2 separate regions of the Homo sapiens genome follow, and region 1 is linked to region 2. The links are contacts of gene promoters, found by promoter capture Hi-C in human tissues and cell types (Jung and others, 2019). All regions are on one chromosome and are shown on one strand. The core of a region is centred on a gene start or on the middle of the fragment in contact, and the rest is flanking DNA. Distances in the headings are between cores, read along the strand shown. Region 1 overlaps NWD1 (NACHT and WD repeat domain containing 1). Region 2 holds the start of NWD1 (NACHT and WD repeat domain containing 1).

The links. The method cuts DNA at HindIII sites, captures the fragments that hold promoters and counts their contacts. A contact is called where the count stands out against the background at its distance.
Region 1: a contact is called between a fragment that was not itself captured here and the fragment with the promoter of NWD1 in region 2, in 5 of the 25 tissues and cell types used here (adrenal gland, aorta, mesenchymal stem cells and 2 more).

Annotation. Positions count from the first base shown.
Region 1 is chr19:16,770,088-16,776,267 of GRCh38, forward strand. It overlaps NWD1 (NACHT and WD repeat domain containing 1), which reads left to right. Exons shown (of 19, transcript NM_001007525.5): 11 at 3,039-3,236. Among named protein-coding and RNA genes, the nearest start is that of NWD1, 53 kb to the left of the region's middle. The HindIII fragment of the contact is 3,804 bases long and covers 1-3,416 here.
Region 2 is chr19:16,715,023-16,721,118 of GRCh38, forward strand. It overlaps NWD1 (NACHT and WD repeat domain containing 1), which reads left to right and starts at 4,825. Exons shown (of 19, transcript NM_001007525.5): 1 at 4,825-5,271. The HindIII fragment of the contact is 25,691 bases long and covers 1-6,096 here.

The DNA of each region.
Region 1 (6,180 bases), core at 265-2,764, 52 kb after region 2:
TGGCATCATCTGTTTTCTCCCTGCCAAATTTTTACCTTTAACACATTGATATGGTTTGGCTGTGTCCCCACCCAGCTATCATCTTGAATTGTATTTCCCATAATCCCCACACATTGAGGGAGGGACCAGGTGGAGATAATCGAATCATGGAGGTGTTTTCCTCCATGCTGTTCTCCTGATACTGAGTAAGCTCTCAAGAGATCTGATGGGGCTTTTTAAAATAAGGGGCTTCCCCCTTTGCTCAGCTCTCATTCTTCTCTCTCCTCCCGCCTTGTGAAGAAGGGCGTGTTTGCTTCCCCTTCCACCGTGATTGTAAGTTTCCTGAGGCCTCCCCAGCCCTGCAGAACTGTAGGTCAATTAAACCTCTTTCCTTTATAAATTACCCAGTTTCAGGTATGTCTTTATTAGCAGCATGAGAACAGACAAATACACACAGAGACCACAAATTTTGAGCCCCACCGTGTCCATTGAAATCTTGGCGCTGCCACTTCTTGGCAGTGTGACCTTGCAAACCCTTTACCATCCCTCCCCCTGCCCCACAGCCCTCAGTTTTCCCATCTGCAGAATAGGGATGCTGAGTGACCATCCCACCTAGGGCTGCTGGGAAGAGTACGCGCATCAGTTCACACAGAACCTCCACCCGTGTTGCCATCGAGGGTCCTGTTACTGTCATATGATAGCATTGTTGACATGAATAGCCTAGGATGAGCTATTTCTGCCCTGAAACCCTATTTTTGTCATCTGCAAAATGTGCAATTGAACTAAAATGTGTCCAGAACTCCACCCAATGTGAAGATGCTGGTGCCTGCAATCATTTATGCCTTTCTTATGCATTCACACAACCCCTACTGATTATCTGCCATAGCCCCAGCTCCCACAGGGACCTAAATATAGTTAATGTTTGTCTCAGCCTTTAAGAGAGGGAGATGGGGCCGAGTGCGGGGGTTCACGCTTCTAATCCCAGCACTTTGGGAGGCCCAGACAGAAGGATTGCTAGAGGGCAGGAGTTCAAGACCATCCTGGGCAACATAGCGAGACCCTATCTCTGTAAAAAAAAATTAATTAGTTAAAAATAGATAGATGGCTGGGCACAGTGGCTCACGCCTGTAACCCCAATACTTTGAGAAGCCGAGGCAGGCAGATTGCTTGAGGCCAGGAGTTTGAGACCAGCCTTGGTGACAGTGAAACCCCATCTCTACTAAAAATACAAAAATTAGCCGGGTGTGGTGGTGCATGCCTGTAATCCCAGCTTCTTGGGAGGCTGAGGCACGAAAATTGCTTGAACCCGGGAGGCAGATGTTGCGGTGAGCCGAGATCACGCCACCGCACTCCAACTTGCACGACAGAGCAAGACTCTGTCTCAAAATACACAAATAAATAAAGAGAAGGAGATGGAACAGCATACCAAACAACTGGAATTTAAGGCAACTGGAAAGAAAAATAACGCGAGAGGCGCTCGCCAGGAGTTGTAAACCTTGATGGAGCAACTTCCCAGGAAAACAGCCTTGGGCATGACTTCCCATTTTAAGGAAGATTTAAAAGCCCAGATCTCTCAGCAAGTTCCCTGCAAAGCCCCTTGATTGACAACCTGTGGCTCCCCCAGCACAAGGAGGAGGTGTAGGAACAAATGTTATCACCAGAGGGCGCTGCTGGACAACCATGTGCTCTCCGTACATCCAAGCACGCTGGCGAATGGGGACCATTCAACATAACATCCTAAATGATCCAACGCGATCACGAGTCCTTTTTTTTTTTTTTTTTTGAGAAGGAGCCTCGCTCTGTCACCCAACTTCTGCCTCCTGGGTTCCAGCGATTCTCCTGTCTCAGCCTCCCGAGTAGCTGGGATTACAGGCCTGCGCGCCACCATGCTCGGCTAATTTTTCTTAATAGCCCATTTTTTAATAGAACGGTTTTAGGTTCACAGCAAAATTGAGTGAAAGGTACAAAGATTTCCAATATATCCCTCCTCTGATCCTACTTTTATTGAAAAGGTTGAGTCTGAGCACAGTGGCTCACGCCTATAATTCCAGAGCTTTGAGGGGTCGAGGAAGGAGGATATCTTGAGCCCAGAAGTTTGAGACCAGCCTGGGCAACATAACGAGACCCCGTCTCTACAAAAAATAAAAAACTAACGAGGCGTGGTGACGTGCATCTGCAGTCCCAGCTAATATAGAGGCTGTGGCCGGAAGATCGCTTGAGCCCAGGAGTTTGAGGCTGCAGTGAGCTGCGATCGTGCCACTGCACTCCAGCCTGGGTGACAGAGTAAGACCCTGTCTCTAAAAAAATAAATAGCCAGGCGCGGTGGCTCATGCCTGTAATCCCAGCACTTTAGGAGGCCGAGGCAGGTGGATCACTTGAGGTCAGCCCAGCCAACATGGTGAAACCCCGTTTCCACTAGACACACAAAAATTAGTTGGGCCTGGTGGCGGGCACCTGTAGTCCCAGCTATTAGGGAGGCTGAGGCAGGAGAATCGCTTGAACCTGGGAGGTGCAGGTTGCAGTGAGCCAAGATCGCACCATTGCACTCCAACCTAGGTGACAGGCTAAAATTCCATCTCAAAAATAAATAAATAAAATAAAATAAAACAAACAAATAAATTAGCTGAGTGTGGTGGCGCATGCCTGTAGTCCCTAGTATTTGGGAGGCTGAGATGGGAGGATTGCTTGAGCCCAGAAGTTTGAGGCTGCAGTTAGCTTTGATCATGCCACTGCACTCCAGCCGGGACAACAGAGTGTGATAAAAGAGGAAGGAAGAAAGGAAGGGAGAGAGGGAGAGAAGAAGGGAGGGAGGAAGGAAAGGGAAGCATTCTAGGCAACCTGGGCAAAGGCTGGAGACTGGAAACAGCTGGGTGCCTCTGAAGCAAGGGTAAGTGTGTCTGGAGAGCAGAGAAGGAGACAGGAGCGGACAGCAGAGGCCAGTAGCTGAGGTATTGTGTCTTCTTTTGTTCTGGAGCCCCTGCAGGGAGCAGAGACTCAATTGGCAGGGAGGGTAGAGGGGGCTCAATCCAGGCAACTTAGTCTACATCCCTTTGTTGCAGAGAGGAGCCTCCTGTACACAGAACTGCTGGCCAGACTCCATTTCTTCGCCACCTCACATCCAGCACTGGTGGGACAGCTATGCCAACAGGCCCAGAGCTGGTTCCAGTTGTGCGCACACCCTGTGCTGGTGCCCCTCGGAGGATTCCTCCAGCCCCCGGGAGGACCCCTCCGGGCAACTCTCAGCGGCTGTCACAAAGGTGAGTCTCCCCAGCATAGCAAAAATCCCAGCAGGCACCTGCTTGCCTGGGGGCAGTGAAGGCCAGGTGTTTGAGGTTGTCCTCTGGGACTCCCCTGTGCTAGTTGGGAGGCCCCAAGCTTGCCATCAGAGCCTGCCCCTGCTGTCTCATGCTGAATCAGCTCTCTCTGCCCCACCTCAAGGGACTGTAGATGTCTCATATAAATTCTTCTAATGAGCCCGATGCTAGGGGGTGCCTCCAAGCTTCCCATCTCCAAGGGATTGGTGCCCATCTGACAGTTTCAGCTATTTACAAGCTCATGCTAGTAATTCTGAAAGCTAGGAACTGATGCCTGACAGTCCTCTGAGAAGCTGAAGGAACTGTAAGCAGCCCTTGGAATCCCAGAATGTAAGGGAGAGGAGAGGATTTAGGTTTTGCCATCCATTTGTCATTCATTTTTTTCTTCCTTCCATTCATCCAACCATCTATGCATCCATCCTTTCATTCACCTTCCTACTCTTCCATCCAATTACCCTCCCATCCATTCATTCATCTCTCTATCTACCTCCCACCCTTCCATTCATCTATCCATCCATCCACCAGCCTCCCACCCACCCATCCATTCATCCATCCATCTATCCATCCATCCATCCATCCATCCATCCATCCATCCATTAATTCACCTTCCTACTCTTCCATCCAATTACCCTCCCATCCATTCATCCATCTATCTACACTCCCACCCTTCCATTCATCTATCCATCCATCCATCCACCGTCCTCCCACCCACCCATCCATTCATCCACCCATCTTCTCTGCCACCCTTCCATCCATCTACTGCCCCATCCATCCATCCATCCATCCACCTTCCCACTCTCCCATCCATCTATCCTCCCACCCTTCCATCCATCTATCCATCCATTCACTCATCCACCCACCCATTCATACATCAGTTGTCCATTCATCCAATCATCTACCCACCCTTCCATTTATCCATCAATTCATCTATCAAACCACTTTCCTCTCCATCCATCCATCCATCCATCCTCCCACCCATCCACCCATCCATCTACCCACCCTGCTACCTTTCCATCCATCTATCCCCCATCTCTAAATCCATCTACCCTCCCACTCTTTCATTCATCTACTGTTCCACTGTTCCATCCATCCACCCATCCACCCATCCATCCATCTATCCATCTACCCTACCACTGTTTCATTTATCTAGCCCCATTCATCCATCCACCCATCCGTTATTCATCGATTCATCAAATCATTTACTCACCTTTTCATTAATCTATCCATCCATCCATTCATCAAATCACCTTCCCATCCTTTCATCCGTCCATCCACCCACCCTTCCATCCACTCACCCACCTACACACCTTTCCTTCCATCCATCCACTCACCCATCCATTCATCCATTCATTCATCCTTCAACCCTTTCTTTCTTCCTTCCTTCCTCTCTTCTATCCACCCATCAGTCATCCACCCCTCTACCCACTTATCCTTCCATTTTCTTCATCTGATCATCTTCCATTCATTCACTTACGCCTCCACCCATCCACACACTTAGCCATTCATCAACTTTCTCACTTCAATTTCATCGAGAAACTGATTCCTCCATCTACCCATCTACCTGCCCATCCATTCACCCACTCACTCATCCAACTAGCCACCTGTCTACCCACTCATTTACCTCCATTCACCCATCTATTTATCTGCCCACCCACAATCTCTCACACTGATTGTGAGACCACTGAGTTCACTTGTGGTTCAAATGTCAGAGCTCCTTACTGTGCCACATGACCTGGCAGTGAGAGCTGCACTCCCCAGGCACATTATTTTCAAAATAGAAATGCTAAGAGACACTAAGTACAATGCATGGAGGAGTTGATTTAGGGGCAGCCACTAGAATGCTGTGTTGAGGATTCTAAGACTGAAGCTAGCTTAGTGGGAAAGAGTGTGTATTTGTTAGAATATAGGCTCAGATGTTGTAAAAAAAAATGGCCAAAATATCAGTGGCTTAAATAAGATAGGAGTTTAATTCTCTCTTTTGAAATAGTTCAAGCAAAAGCAGAGGCAAGAGGGAGTCTTTAGGGTGTCTGGGACCCATACTCTTTCAGTCTGGCGCTCTGCCATTTTCAGTGTAGGGCTGTCCTCGTTGGCCCAATATAGCTGCTCCAACTCCTACCATCAAGATGGCATTCCAGCCAGTGGGGAATAGGAGAAGCAGATGGCAGGCCTCTTCATTTTAAGGGCACGACCTGGAAGCAGAACTAAATATTTCCACTCCTGTCTCATTGGCAAGAACTTGGATATCTCCAACTGTAAGGAAGCCTGGGAAATATGTTTTTATATTTTTATTTTTATTTTTACTTTTTATATGGAGTTTTGTTCTTGTCGCCCAGGCTGGAGTGCAGTGGCGCAATCTCGGCTCACTGCACCTCTGCTTCCCAGATTCAAGCCATTTTCCTGCCTCAGCCTCCCAAGTAGCTGGGATTACAGGCACATGCCACCATGCCTGGCTAATTTTTGTATTCTTGGTAGAGACAGGGTTTCACCATGTTGGCCAGGCTGGTCTCAAACTCCTGACCTCAGGTGATCGCCTACCTTGGCCTCCCAAAGTGCTGGGATTACAGGGTTGAGCCACTGTGCTCAGCCAGGGAAATGTGGTCTTTGTGCGGATAACTATGTACTCAGCTAAAACCTGTAGGCTTTTGGGTTTTATTACTAAAGGTGAGATGATAGAATGACTATGGGGGCACAAATCGCACATAGTGCTGTGATTGATTAATGATGTCTGTCATGGCACAGGCATAGGAAGTTACAGCTTAGCGTGACATTTTTCTCATCTCTGGGGCAGGGAAATGTTCTGTGTTTCAGATCCACTGTGCCCCGCTGTACATCCTCTAGTTCTGTTAAAGTTGAGAAAGTTCTTACCTGTGTGGACTTCAGTTTGTTC
Region 2 (6,096 bases), core at 3,575-6,074:
GGGATGACGAAGGAAGTGCAGTTGACCCTTGAACAACACGAGTTTGAACTGTACGGATGTACTCAGGCGTGGATTTTTTTCCACCCCTGCCACCCCTGAGACAGCAAGACCAAGCCCTCCTTCTGTTCTTCCTCCTTCTCCTTCTCCTTAGCCTGCTCAAGGTGAAGACGACAAGGATGAACACTTTTGTGATGATCCACTTCCACTTCATCCATAGTAAATATGTTTTCTCTTCCTTTGAAGTTTGGACGGGCACAGTGGCTCACTCCTGTAATCCCAGCACTTTAGAGGCCAAGACGGGTGGATCACCTGAGGCCAGGAGTTCAAGACCAGCCTAGCCAACATGGCAAAACCCTGCCTCTACTAAAAATACAAAAATTAGCCAGGCGTGGTGGTGGGCGCCTGTAATCCCAGCTACTCAGAGGCTGAGGCAGGAGAATCGCTTGAACCCAGGAGGCAGAGGTTGCAGTGAGTTGAGGTCATGCCACTGCACTCCAGCCTGGGCAACAGAGTGAGACTCCATCTCAAATAATGAAACAAACAAACAAAAAACAAAACAAAAACAAAACACCAGAATTTTTTTAGTGACATTTGCTTTTCTCTAGCTTACTTATTGCAAGAATACAGTATATAATACATAGAATGTAGAAAATCAGTGTTCATCGACCATTTATGTCATCAATAAGGCTTTTGGTCAATAGTAGGTGTTACATGCAGTCAAAAGTTACATGCAGATTTTTGACTGTAGGGGTGAGCTTGGCACTCCTAACCCCTGTGTTGGTTCTAAGGTTGACTACACAGAAATCCCCTAGCCCTGGGCTCGTGGTTACTCAATGCATAAGGATAATCACGATTTTTTTTTTTTTTTTTAAAACAGGGTCTTGCTCTGTCACCCAGGCTGGAGTGCAGTGGTGCAGTCATAGCTCACTGCAGCCTCAACCTCTTGGGCTCAAGTGATCCTCCCACCTCAGCCTGCCCAGTAGCTGGGACTACAGGCATGCACCACCAAGTCTGGTGAATTTTTATTTTTTGTAGATATGGGATCTCACTATATTGTCCAGGCTGGTCTCGAACTCCTGGGCTCAAGCAATCCACCTGCCTCAGCCTCCCAAAATGCTGGGATTACAGGCGTCAGCCAACATTCCCAGCCACTATTTTTTTTTTTTTTTGAGACAGTCTTGCTCTGTCCCCCAGGCTGGAGTGCAGTGGTGTGATCTCAGCTCACTGCAACTTCCGCCTCCTGGGTTCGAGCAATTCTCCTGCTTCTGCCTCCCAAGTAGCTGGGATTACAGGCATGCACCACCACGCCTGGCTAATTTTTTTTTTTTTTTGTATTTTTAGTAGAGATGGGATTTCACCATGTTGGCCAGGCTGGTCTCAAACTCTGGGCCTCAAGTGATCATCCCGCCTGGGCCTCCCAAAGTGCTGGGAGTGTGCCCGGCCCCAGCCACTATTTTTTAAGAGTACAAAATTGAAGCATATTCTGATAGGGAATTTAAAACACTCACTAAAGTAGGCAGAATAGTATAATGAACCGCAGCCCACCCTAACCACCATCACCCCCTACTCAACCTCGCCAACCCCGCCCCCATCCCATTTGCCTTCCTGTCAGGTATTATTTTGAAGCAAATCTCAGCTATCTTATCATTCCATAAATATTTTGTTATATGTCTCTAAAACATACACACTCTTTTTTTTTTTTTTTTGAGACAGGGTCTCACTCTGTTGCCCAAGCTGGAGCACAGTGGCGTGATCACGACTCATTGCAGCCTCAACTTCCCAGGTTCAAGTGATCCTTCCACCTCAGAGTAGCAGGGACCACTGGCACATGCACCATGTCTAGTTAATTTTTTAATTTTTTGTAAAAATGGAGTCTCAATATGTTGGCCAGTCTGGTCTTGAACTCCTGAGCTTAAGTGATCCTCCTGCCTTGGCCTCCCAAACTGCTGGGATAACAGGCATGAGGCACTGCACCTGGCCCAGACTCTTTAAAAGCCTAACCAGTCTGGGCATGGTGGCTCATGCCTGTAATCCCAGCACTTTGGGAGGCCGAGGCGGGTGCATCACCTGAGGTCAGGAGTTCCAGACCAGCCTGGACAACATGGTGAAACCCCGTCTCTACTAAAAATACAAAATATTAGCCAGGTGTGGTGGCAGGTGCCTCTAATCCCAGCTACTCGGGAGGGTGAGACAGGAGAATTGCTTGAACGTGGGAGGCGGAGGTTGCAGTAAGCCAAGATCATGCCATTGCACTCCAGCCTGGATGACAAGAGCAAAACTGTCTCGAAAACAAAAACAAAAATAAAAACAAAAACCTCACCGCAATACCATTGTCACACTGCAAAAACTTTGCCAATAATTTTTTAATATCTGTAGATTCCAGTTTAGCCAATAACTGTGGAGTTTTGGAATCATATCCGAATTTGGCTGTTAGCTCACTTCCTTGCCAAGGAAACTTGGGAAATTGTTTAACTTCTTTGAAGCCTATTTTCTTTCTTCTTCTTTTTTTTTTTAAACGCAGTCTCACTTTGTCACCCAGGCTGGAGTGCAATGGCGTGATCTCGGCTCACTGCAACCTCCGCCTTCCGGGTTCATGCGATTCTCCTGCCTCAGCCTCTCGAGTAGCTGGGATTACAGGTGCTCACCACCACGCCCAGCTAATTTTTGTATTTTTAGTAGAGACAGGGTTTCATCACGTTGGTCTGGAAGCCTGTTTTCATCATCAATGAACTGGGATAGTAAATTGAAGCCCCCAGATTGCTTGGAGTATTGGAGACAGTATGTTTCCTAAAATTTCAGCCCCTAAAACTTCTTTTCTTTTCTTTTTCTTTTTTTGTTTTAAAGAGACAGGGTTTTGCTCTGTTGCCCAGGCTAGAGTGCAGTGAGGCAATCATATCTCACTGCAGCCTTGACTTTCTGGGCTCAAGTAATCCTCCCACCTCAACCTCCCGAGTAGTTGGGACTACAGGCACACACCACCACGCCCAGCTAATTTTTTGTTATTGTTGTTGTTGTAGAGATGAGGGTCTCACTATGTTGCCCAGGCTGGTCTTGAACTCCTGGCCTTGAGTGATCCTCCCACCTTGGCTTCCCCAGTAGCTGGGACTACAGGAGCATGCCACTGTGCCTGGCAGCACCTGAAACTTCTTTTTTTTTTTTTTTTGTGAGATGGAGTGTAGTGTGGCTCTGTCGTCCAGGCTGGAGTGCAATGGCGTAATCTCTGCTCACTGCAACCTCTGCCTCCCAGGTTTAAGTGATCCTCCTGCCTCAGCCTCCCAAGTAGCTGGGATTACAGGCACCTGCCACCATGCCTGGCTAATTTTTGTTTTTAGTAGAGATGGGGTCTCACCATATTGGCCAAGCTGGTCTCAAATTCCTGACCTCAGGTGATTTGCCCACCTCGGCCTCCCAAAGTGCTGGGATTACAGGCATGAGCCACCGCGCCTGACCAAGTATCTGAAACTTCTATCCCTGAAAATATAGTAACACTATTATTATTACTTTTTCTTTGAGATGGAGGCTTGCTCTGTCGCCCAGGCTGGAGTGCAGTGGCGCAATCTCGGCTCACTGCAAGCTCCACCTCCCAGGTTCATGCCATTCTCCTGCCTCAGCTTCCTGAGTAGCTGGGACTACAGGTGCAAACCACCACGCCCAGCTAATTTTTTGTTTTTTGTTTTTTGTTTTTTATGTAGAGACAGGGTTTCACCATGTTAGCCAGGATGGTCTTGATCTCCTGACCTCGTGATCTGCCTGCCTTGGCCTCCCAAAGTGCTGGGATTACTGGCGTGAGCCACCATGCCTGGGTGACTTGTGAGTTTTTGAGACAAAGTCTCGCTCTGTCACCCAGGCTGGAGTGCAGTGGTGCGATCTCGGCTCACTGCAAGCTCCACCTCCCGGGTTCATGCCATTCTCCTGCCTCAGCTTCCTGAGTAGCTGGGACTACAGGTGCAAACCACCACGCCCAGCTAATTTTTTGTTTTGTTTTGTTTTGTTTTTTTTGTAGAGACGGGGTTTCACCGTGTTAGCCAGGATGGTCTTGATCTCCTGACCTCGTGATCTGCCTGCCTTGGCCTCCCAAAGTGCTGGGATTACTAGCGTGAGCCACCATGCCCGGGTGATTTGTGAGTTTTTGAGACAAAGTCTTGCTCTGTCGCCCAGGCTGCAGTGCAGTGGCAGGATCTCGGCTCATTGCAACCTCCAACTCCCAGGTTCAAACAATTCTTGTGCCTCAGCCTCCCAAGTAGCTGGGATTACAGGCATGCGTCACCACGCCCAGCTAATTTTTCTATTTTTAGTAGAGATAGGGGTCTCACCATATTGGCCAGTCTGGTCTTGAATGCCTGACCTCAGGTGATCCGCCTGCCTCGGCCTCCCAAAGTGCTGGGATTACAGGCATGAGCCACCGTGCCCGGTCTTGGAGTTTTAATGGTAATTAATCATGGCTAACATCTCACGGGCCCTTCCTGTGATGTAGGTGTAGTGTTAGTCTCACTCTCTATATAAATGCTTTTCATTGTCTCACCAACACAGGAAGTTAGTGAGAAAATTCAAGTGCAGAGTAGTGAAGCGTCACAGGCAAGGGACTTCACCTTTCTGCATCTTGTTTTCTTCATCTGTGAAACAGGATCATAATGTCTGTCTCTTGGGGTAATAATGTGGACTGCTAATGCCAAATGCCAACCAACTGCACCTCCTAGACTGTCAGCAAATGGCATCTTTTACGAGGAGCCGTATCAGCCTGGCACACAATAGTTAACCACTAAGTCTGGGCTGAATGCCCGGCTAAGCTGGTGCCCTAGTGCAAACAATCGCTTTCATTATCCCAGTTGCTGGGAGAATTGGGCAAGGAGAGACCCATAAAATACCTAAGACGAAAGTTACTAGGATAGCCAGGGGCTTGTCTTCCGGGTGGCGCCGAGGCCAGGAAACTGTCCTCTCTAACCTATTTCCCCAGAGGAGTCTAAATTGGTCGTTCAACTACCAGCAAAGGCTAAAGAGAGGCTGGAGCCCCCAGGACAGCCAGAACGCTGACACTGCAAAGGGCCTCTGTCCTTACTGGGGAAGCCCAGTCCTGCTCAGCTGTCTTCTTCAGCAACAAACAGAAGTCCAGAAAGAGAAACAGTTGTGGAGGAAGCTGTTGTGATGATAATTTACTGAGCACCTACTATGTGCCAGGCACGCCAGCCTTACCAGACAAGATCCTTGGGCTCATGGAATTCACTTTCTCGTGGGACAGACAAACAATAACATGTAGAAACATATCAGCTGTTGGTGAGTACCATGCAGAAAATTAAAATAAGGCGATGGCATTGGGAGTGACTTAAGGGGTCACTACGCAATGGGATGGTCAGAGACAGCCTCTCAGGAGGAGGTAGCATTGAAGCTAAAATGTGAACAACATGAACAGATGCAGCATAGAGCACTAAAGTACAGGACGTGCAAAGGCCCTGAGGTTGAAATAAGCTAAATGCATTAGACTAGGGGGTTCTCGAGTAAGGGGAATTCTGCCCCCTAGGGGACATTGCAATGTCTAGGGAGACTTTTTTTTTTTTGAGACGGAGTCTCGCTCTGTCACTAGGCTGGAGTGCAGTGGCGTGATCTCAGTTACTGCAAGCTCTGCCTCCCAGGTTCACACCATTCTCCTGCCTCAGCCTCCTGAGTAGCTGGGACTACAGGTGTCCGCCACATGCCCGGCTAATTTTTTGTATTTTTAGTAGAGACGGGGTTTCACCGTGTTAGCCAGGATGGTCTCGATCTCCTGACCTCATGATCTGCCCTCCTCGGCTTCCCAAAGTGCTGGGATTACAGGCGTGAGCCACCGCACCTGGCCGAGACTTTTTCTTTTTGAGATGGAGCCTTGCTCTGTTGCCCAGGCTGGAGCGCAGTGGCACGATCTCGGCTCACTGCAACCTCTGCTTCCCGGGTTCAAGCGATTCTCCTGCCTCAGGCTTCCGAGTAGCTGGGATTACAGGTACATGCCACCGCGCCAGCTAATTTTTGTATTTTTAGTAGAGATGGGGTTTCGCCATGTTGGCCAGGCTGGTCTCGAACTCCTGGCCTCAAGTAATCTGCCTGTTTTGGCCTCTCAAAGTGCTG